Regions from separate parts of the Homo sapiens genome. Here regions 1 and 3 are each linked to region 2. The links are contacts of gene promoters, found by promoter capture Hi-C in human tissues and cell types (Jung and others, 2019). All regions are on one chromosome and are shown on one strand. The core of a region is centred on a gene start or on the middle of the fragment in contact, and the rest is flanking DNA. Distances in the headings are between cores, read along the strand shown.

Evidence for each region. Contacts are between HindIII fragments. The study calls those that stand out against the background at their distance.
Region 1: a contact is called between a fragment that was not itself captured here and the fragment with the promoter of RPA3 in region 2, in 1 of the 25 tissues and cell types used here (spleen).
Region 3: a fragment that was not itself captured here is called in contact with the fragment with the promoter of RPA3 in region 2 in 1 of the 25 tissues and cell types used here (H1 embryonic stem cells).

What each region holds. Positions count from the first base shown.
Region 1 is chr7:8,109,278-8,112,511 of GRCh38, reverse strand. No RefSeq gene overlaps it. Among named protein-coding and RNA genes, the nearest start is that of GLCCI1, 140 kb to the right of the region's middle. The HindIII fragment of the contact is 4,002 bases long and covers 1-3,234 here.
Region 2 is chr7:7,717,064-7,719,864 of GRCh38, reverse strand. RPA3 (replication protein A3) reads left to right here and starts at 1,258. Exons shown (of 8, transcript NM_002947.5): 1 at 1,258-1,350. All of the region lies in intron 2 of UMAD1 (UBAP1-MVB12-associated (UMA) domain containing 1), which reads right to left. The HindIII fragment of the contact is 4,791 bases long and covers 1-2,801 here.
Region 3 is chr7:8,147,795-8,150,620 of GRCh38, reverse strand. The region is part of intron 8 of ICA1 (islet cell autoantigen 1); the gene reads left to right. Among named protein-coding and RNA genes, the nearest start is that of ICA1, 110 kb to the left of the region's middle. The HindIII fragment of the contact is 5,968 bases long and covers 1-2,826 here.

The sequences.
Region 1 (3,234 bases), core at 659-3,158, 390 kb before region 2:
ACATCCGGGCCTACCATCAGCTATCCAGGGGGTCTCCTTTGTTAGAATCTCATTTAGCAGATTCCTCAACCCGGCATTGGTGGGCTTTGAGGATATGAAGAGTTCAGTACCAGAGCCTCACCTTGTGAGCCTTCCCGCACTCACACAGGAGGCCTTGCTGTACCCTCAGCCTCTGCTCCCCACCCTGGGCCTGTGTGTTTGCTGTGCACGTCTGCTGGGATGCCATCACAACCCCACCTACCCTTCCAGAGCCTCTGTAGAGCCGACGTGCTCCACAAGGACCTCTCCAAGTGCATCCCCCAGGTCTCCTGTGAGGAACCAGCCCTCACCTCTCCGTGACACTTCATCAGCTCCTGCCCTCCCTTCCTGCCTCTCTCCCATCTCATACAGCGACACTAGGATGGTGCTTGCCCTGGCCTCACAAGGACTGTGCTTTATGTATCTGCCTCTACCACTAGGTGCTATGACCCCAAAGAACAGTCTCCCTGTTTCTCCAAATCTCTGTCTCTCCGGCAGTCAGCACCCTGCAGTCACCTCGTCAGCAATGGATTAATGATTGGGGGAGTCAAGCTGCCCTTCATGGAATGTGGACTCAGTCCTGGTTTCATCCTGGGTCACATTTGCAGCTGTGAAAACCCTGCAACCACAGTAAGAAGATGAGGGACGAGGCACTGACTCGCTCCGTCCAGGCTAGAGGCCCAGAGAGCTTGGTGGGGGAAAGGGTGGGACAGCAAAGGGGGTGGGGTTCATCTATTTTGAATGGATTACTTTAAATACTAACAGGTGGCATTTAAAAGTTGCTCTTTGGGTGGAGGGGAGAGGATTGTGGTAGCTGGACAAGCTTCACTACAAGGACAAGGAAAGAATTGCACATGGAGGCATTTTCTCTCCATATTTTCTTGACCTTAAAAAAAACAAAAGATTCAATTCCCTTTTCTAACTGCAATCCACTTGGCCAGCATCTTGATCCCTTTTGATATGCGTGTTTTGATCCGGGCTCATGCAAAGCCGGTGGACCACCTTTTCAGTTTAAACAGCAGCAGCTGCTGCCTGATTCTCTTTTTAAGTGGCCTGCGTGCCTGCGGGGCCAAAGGGCTTCTTCCAGGACGCACCTCCCGGACCCTCCTCAGCCACCCAAGGACTGGCCCTGGTATGAAGAAGACAAAGGTACGCTACCCTCTTCCTGTACACTTCCTGTACCCTCTTCCTGTACACTCCCACATGTCCCTCATTTTCATTTCATGATGAGAGCCTGGTCTGAATCACAGTTGCACTGAACCCTTTGGGGCGATTTAGAGAGCACCTATTCCTGGAAAGCTTTCCTGCCAATCCAGGTGGGGTGGTCTGCCAGGCTCCCTTCCCTGTCCCCCAGCCAAGATTTAAAGAATATACAAATTTAAGGGAGGGAGCCAGAGAAAATTCTTTTTCCTTCTTTCTTCTTTCCCCAGCTGGCTTGGGCTTTTGGTGTACCTTATAGATTCATTTCCTTCAAAATGTAATTTTAGAAATATCAAGTTGATTTTTGAGCTCTGGGAAAGTGAGAAAAGCACCCGTCAGCTTCAGAATTAGAAATGCACCAACTTAGGACGAACCAGCACTTTTTGTCAGTGGTTTTTCCCAAAAAGACGTGATCTACTCAGAGGCGGCCCGAGGCGTCGGTGGGCCTGTAGGCAGGACTTATGCATGGTGCTATTATTACCAGGCAGGGGTCCTGATCCAGACCCCAAGAGAGGGTTCTTGGACCTCATGCACAAGAAAGAATTTGGGGCGAGTCCATAGAGTAAAGTGAGAACAAGTTTATTAATAAAGTAAAGGAGGCCAGGCGCAGTGGCTCACGCCTGTAATCCCAGCACTTTGGGAGGCTGAGGTGGGCAGATCACCTGAGATCAGGAGTTTGAGACCAGCCTGGCCAACGTGGTGAAATCCCGTCTCTACTAAAAGAAATTAGTTGGGCGTGGTGGCGGGCACCTGTAATCCCAGCTACTTAGGAGGCTAAGGCAGGAAAATTGCTTGAATCTGAGAGGCGCAGGTTGCAGTCAGCCATGATTGCTCCACTGCACTCCAGTCTGGGTGAAAGAGCAAAACTGCATCTCAAAAGAAAAAAAAAAAAAAAGAAAGTAAAGGAATAAGGAATGGCTACTCGAGTCATAGGCAGAGTAGTGGCATGGGCCGCTTGACTGAGTATACTTACAGTTATTTCCTGATTATATGCTAAACAAGGGGTGGATTATTCATGAGTTTTCTGGGAAAGGGGTGGAGATTCTCCTTTTTGGACTAATCACCTCTTTAAAGCCTCACCTCTTAATACTGTTGCAATGGCAATTAAATTTCCAACACATGAACTTTGGGGGATATATTCAAACCATAGTAGTCATGGTGGGAAATGGGCTGTGTGCCCAGCTTTTCAGGCACTGGAGTCTCACCCTCAAGGACCAAGAATAGAGAAAGTTCCTTAAGGCAGAATTGGGATGCTGTTACTAGAGAAAGAAAAAAAAATGGATGTTAGGCAGGAAAATACAAGACAGCCACTCTAGTTTCCAGTGGAGGACTTTCAGGAAATGCTTTTCCAGTCTTTCCAGAGGGCTATGAAACAGGGTTGTTAAAGAACTGCAGTGGTTTCCAAAAACCCCCCTATTAGGCGCCTCCCACCTGTGCCATGAGGCCACTCCCCAGCAGGCACTGGGGCTGGAAGCTTGGAGCTCTTAGTGGCCCATTGAGAATACTGACCTTCCTGCTGACTTCATGGAATCACAAAAGGAGTCCTAGAGCTTTTTGCTTCCAACCTGCTCATATCTATGTGAAGAAACTGAGGAGACCAAAGGGACGTGGAGAACTAGGTTTAAAGTTAAGGAAACCCAAGACGAGTAATCACATTCCTGTGGTTACTAGTCTTGGTTTTCCAGGACTGACTCCCAGGCCAATGCTTCTTAAGTGTTTGCTAGAAATTAAAAGTTGTAGAAAGCAATTCAAATGCAAAAACAGGGAAAACTCCTGTCCTTCATGACTGCTTTTATTTTCATTTTTCAGAAGTTAGTTATTAAGTACATCCTTTGGGGATAGCATCCAGGAGAAGCATTTAGGACAGTTGGTAAGTTTGCTCTGAAGCCAGACAAATCTGTGGCCAACTGGGCTCCGCCTGCTCTAAGTCATATACCCTCTCAAGCTTGTTTTCTCATCCATAAAATAGGAATAGTAACATTTCCTGCCACTTGGAGTCATTACAAGGATTGAGTT
Region 2 (2,801 bases), core at 9-2,508:
CCATCTCTTGTTTGTACAGAATTAAATAGTCTAGACAATTTAATTATTTTAATTGATCAGTGTAAGTTGTTGTGAACAATTCAGAATAAAAGCTCCAAGTACAAGTACTTTCTTTCCACATTATTCTTCTCATCTTCAGTTCACATATGAAAACTAAAGCCTCCTAAACTTAAGATTATAAAGTACTGCAAAGTACAGTAGTCACTAACGTGAAAAAAAAAACTACTACTTTCCATGGCTGTCTATAGCTCAACTCTCTGAAAAATATACAGTCGGTTTGAAGTCTTTTGTGAAATCCCTTGTGAGACTCTACTGTTGACTGTGGTTAGAATACATTCAAAAGTATAATCAGATTGCATCATCACCATCACCTGCTCAGAGGCAAGTTGAAGAAACATGTGCTCATGAGGCTGAAGCTGGCTTATTGTACTACACTCTCATGTGGGCTTGCCAGAGAGATTAGTCACCATTTTGCAGCTGGTTTCAAATTCAGTTGCTGCGATACAAGTGCAGATGCAATGGCTTACCCTAATTATATTGCTCCAGTTTAATCTTTCCATTTGTAGCATACTATATACTGGATCAAATTCAAGACTCTGGATTGGTTTCAAATAGAAGAGATTTCAAAATCACACATTTGTTATCCTCTCCTAAAGCTTGCTGATCATATTTCATCATTGTATCTGCTAGATCTTCTGAATTCACCCTAAAGGTGTTTTTAGCTCTCTAAACCATCACTAAATCTTGATAATTAATAAAAATGCAGAAAAAAACAGTTCTTAAAGCTTTTTTTAACACAATAAAAGGAAAGTTATGTCATCTCCAAAAATACTCATATGTTTTTTAAAATTTCAATTTTCTTCCTCTTTGGAATTAAATATATGAGCAAATTCTAAGGAAATTAATTGTAATCAGTGGTTTCTAAACTTAACTGATGGTCAAAATCACTTGGGAAGCTTTAAAACACACATACATTTCCCCCACTTCACCCTGTACCTGTTGAGTCATAATTTAAAGAGGTTTCTTTTTAAATTAATCTAGAAGTTAAATAAAGCTAATGCTGGTATTGCTTCTGAGAGTCAGAAAGAAAAAAGAAAGGTTCCTGCCTATCTCATGCAGGTCTTTTTAACTGCCTGCTACTGTCCATATTTAATAAATGCCATCTGTCAAGAATGATGTCTATACAAAGAGATGATGTAATCAGAAGAACTTTAAAATAAAAGAAAAAATAAAATCCTAGCATCATCAGATCCACAGAAGCTACTCAGATAAGAGGCTCCAAGAGGACATTTTTGGATGTGAAAAACAATGAGAAGGAGGACAACACACATTTACAATCGTCTTAATTTTGTAAGTATCTGTTTGAATTTGTTGGATACATAGTTTTTTCCTTCAAAATAACTTAAAGGTATTATTTTGAAGACACACATAGTCAAGTTTAGATTATGCATTTTTACTCCGTTCTTATTCATTTGTTCCATGCTAGTGCTGGGAATATGGTGGTAAGAACAGACAACCCATGCCCTCACTATGCATACAGTATCATCGATGGCATTATAAAAATATCAAAATAGTTTTATGGTTAAAATAAACTATAAGAAATTCACATAAGTATATTTCAAAATACCCTTGGGGATAAAAATAACACATTCAAGTTACAGCTGACACATTATTTGGAAAAATCACTCAAGTTCTGCAATTTCTTCTTCCCAAATTAATACCAGTTTTACTTTCTTATCTGATCTAAAATTTATAACTTATTATACAACAATGTGAAGTTAATAAGTGAATGGTATATCACAGGTTATTCAACACACTGCTAAAATTAAAAATCATTGTGTCAATTCTAAAAACTAGATTTCCCTAAACTCTAAAAGCTACACAACTATGACAAACAGAATCTACAGCACTCTGTGACTCTTAATATTACAATTAAACATCAAGTTTATTAATAGAAAAGTTTGGTAAACAGATTTTCACATGACATAATGTGTCAATTTGATAATTATGGCCAATCATAAACTTAAGCATAAAAGGTGATGGTAAGATAAAAACAAAATCTTGAGGACAAAATTTCAAACTCATGCTCTCATCCAGGCCAGAGTTCCTGAACTATACAATGACAAACTAACTTCTTTGTTAAACTGCATTTTACTCTTTACAAATACAAGTAGTTTTCCAAATACTCCATGCTGTTGATGCCCCAAAGTGGGAAAAACAGATGAATTAAATAAATAGAGGCCATGTTAGCCAATGTGATTGAGACCATTTCTTCATTTAATAAAAAAATCAGTTAAAGTGGGAAATCATAAAAAATACATGCATACCTTAAACATTTTACTTCAAAACAATAAATCATATTCATTTAATAAAGTAAATACTTCTGAAGTAGCAGAGTTGTCTGAGGTAAATACCTGAGGTTATCGTCTCACGCCAAAGAAACTGAAGGACGAGGACACACAAGGAGTGAGTTTAAGAGTGGAGTTTTAATAGATGAAAGAAACAGGAGGCTGGGCGAGGTGGCTTATGCCTGTAATTCCAGCACTTTGGGATGCTGAGGCAGGCGGATCACTTGGGGTCAGGAGTTCGAGACCAGCCAGGCCAACGTGGTGAAACCCAGTCTCTACCAAAAATACGAAAATTAGCTGGGCGTGGTGGCGCATACCGGTAGTCCCAGCTACGCGGGAGGCAGAGGTGAGAGAATCGCTTGAACCCGGGAGACGGAGGTTGCAGTGAGCCAAGATCATGCCATTGCACTCCAGCCTGGGCAACAGACCAAGACTCCGTCTCAAAAAAAAAAA
Region 3 (2,826 bases), core at 295-2,794, 430 kb before region 2:
TGGCTGGGGTATTTAATACCATTTCTTAACTAGTTGTAGAATTTTTAAGACCCGGATTCAAATATTGCTTCTACCTGGTAATAGCCGAAAGGCCTGAAGCAAGTCAGTTCACCTCTCCAAGTCTCCATTTTCCTGTCAGGAAAGCAGGAATACAAGGTTTAACTGGGTTTTGTGAGGATTAAGTGAGATACAGAAAACATAGAGCACAGTACCTGCCACAGGAGGAGCACTTAAGACATCTAATTCCCTTTAGAACTTTAAAAGTCATTGATAAGAAAGCAAGTTTTGAGTGTTTGGTATGAGCTTGGTACTGTGTAGAAGCACCCTCTCAGTTCATCCTCACAGCATCACAAGACGAATACTCGTCATTACCTCCATTGTTCTCATGGGTAAACCAAGACCTCCAAGGAGTGGAGACCATGTCCATGCCACAGCACTATGTGATCCATCTCCAAAGTCCATTTGTTTCCAGGACAGTATGGTGCCTTGTCATTATCAATTTTCTATCTTATTTTTAAAGAAGAATATTACCTATCTTGTTTATGATTGTGATTATTTTTCTCTAATTTTACTTTTTTATACAGTACAATTCAAGGCTACCTCTAGTTACAGAGTAATAGTGTTTCTTATATAGTGTCTTTATAAATTTGTAAGTGTACGGTGAGAGCAAGAGAGTACGTATGTGCTAAATGTCCATGAATTATGTGGCCAGTACACATCACTGTGGCCTCTGTTTTTATTTTCATGTACTTCTAATTGTATAAACACACACATACACATACCCAACTGAATTCAGCACTTTTTAAACATGCCCCACTATTTTGAACACTTTTATTTTTTTTATAGACAATTACTTGGCACCTTCATATGTATACAATATAATTAATGGAAAGTAGCATAAGAAAATTAGATGTCGTAATTAAAGGCTAGAGAAGATACTACTCAGTTGTCAAAGTTAAACATTAAATTTAGGTTATTAGAACTGGCTGCTGGCCTTGTGTCTGTGAAATTTGTTTTGCTAAGTAGTTTTGCATTCATTCAGATGAATGTTGCTGTTGCTTTTATTTTCCTAATACAGGAAGTGGTAACTCCCATTATTATATTAAGCTGTTTCCTTTCTAAGACACTTTTGCAAGCTCGATCTGCGAGTTTCCTCTGTCACGCTGATCTTACATACTACTGTGTGTGTGCTTCCTGAAACCATTTAAGCATGGATGGAAATCATTAGCATGTTAGTGCAGCCTTAACAGAGAAAAGTTTCTTAGTCTAAAAACATTCTTTCCTCCACAAAGAAACTTTCAGTCTTGTATGACTCTGTGTGCTGCTAATACACAGCAATTTTCATGAGCAATTTTAATGAGAGACTGAGTGGGTTTGGGGTTTAGAAACAGAACGTTTTTGGAGTTTTCATTTCTGGACGTGGATTCGTATGTGGCTCCCATCAGCTGGTAATTGGAAATAATGGTTCATCTGATGGCTGCCTCGTCTATACATAGTCAGAGAGGCCTCTTAGATTCATTTTGCCTGAGCAGGTGTTCCTGTCACACAGAAAATATTGTCACCCCTGACTTCTATGCGTTCTATAGGGTTAAGCACTTCAATGGAGTCGTGGACTTCAAAATAATTTGAAGAATTCACCTGCACCTTCTACCCCGAGTTGAGCGTTTGTGATCCAACGTCGGGGAGAGCAGTCTAGAGAATATCCTGTATCTGACAGTCACACCCAGGAACTAATTTGGGGGGATAAAGGGGGTTATGATTTTTTCCTCCATGATCTTTTAATGTTCCCCTTAGCCCCTTTATATCTTCAATGTATACCATCTTTTGTAAGAAACAAGTTCCATATGTGTTATTGTTTTTTTCCTTGCTATATCAAAGAGTATTTAGCTTCGTTTGGTCTACAAATTCTGTCTTGGTGATGTCCCTTGAAAATGTCCTGAAATTGATTATGGTGATGGTCGTCCCACTCTGTGAATACAGTATGTCCTCACTGTCATCAGTTTGTTCTTGGGAAACTGTGACTTTAAGCAAAACAATGTATAATGAAATCCATTTTACCATAGGCTGATTATACAATCAAGAGTTAAGTTCTTACGATGTAACAATTTATGGTCACAAAAACATCACCAAGCTTCTAAATAAAGACCCAAAACACTTCTAATATTTAACACTGAAATAAATCTAAGTTATATGTACATTTAGAAAAGTTTAAAAAAAAAGGTAAGGTAATTCTTTACCCAATTCTTGGTGGATCAGTGAGTGACAGGGAGTCAGAACAGTAGTGGGTTAAATTAAGGAATAAGCGTTGGTGAAGCAAAAATTCTAAGACACCGCCTGCCACCAGGCAGTTCAATCACAATCACAAATACCGTGGGCTCACCGGGTGCTTTTCTGTCACAGCGTTTATTGTCATGCTTCTGTATGATTATATACTTGAAGGATTTTTTATGATAAATTTTATTTATTCATTTGTTCATTTTCCAAACTGCTTATTCCAGTTCAGGGTGGTGGATGGTGGGAGCCTATCCCAGCAGCTCAGGACACAGGATGGGAACCAGTCCTAGACAGGATGCCACCCCGTAGCAGGTCGCACCGACACACACCCCCACGGTCATTCACACTGGGACCATGTAGAATCGCACATTCACCTGACTTGTGTAGCTTTGGGATATGGGAGGAAACTGGAGTGGAGCCAGGAGAAAACCCATTCAGACATGGGCAGAATGTGCAAACTCCACCCTGACAGTGGCCCCGAGCCAGGAAATCCATTTTTTTTTCTCATCAACATTATAACAAAATGACATTATTCAAGGACCTACTTACTGT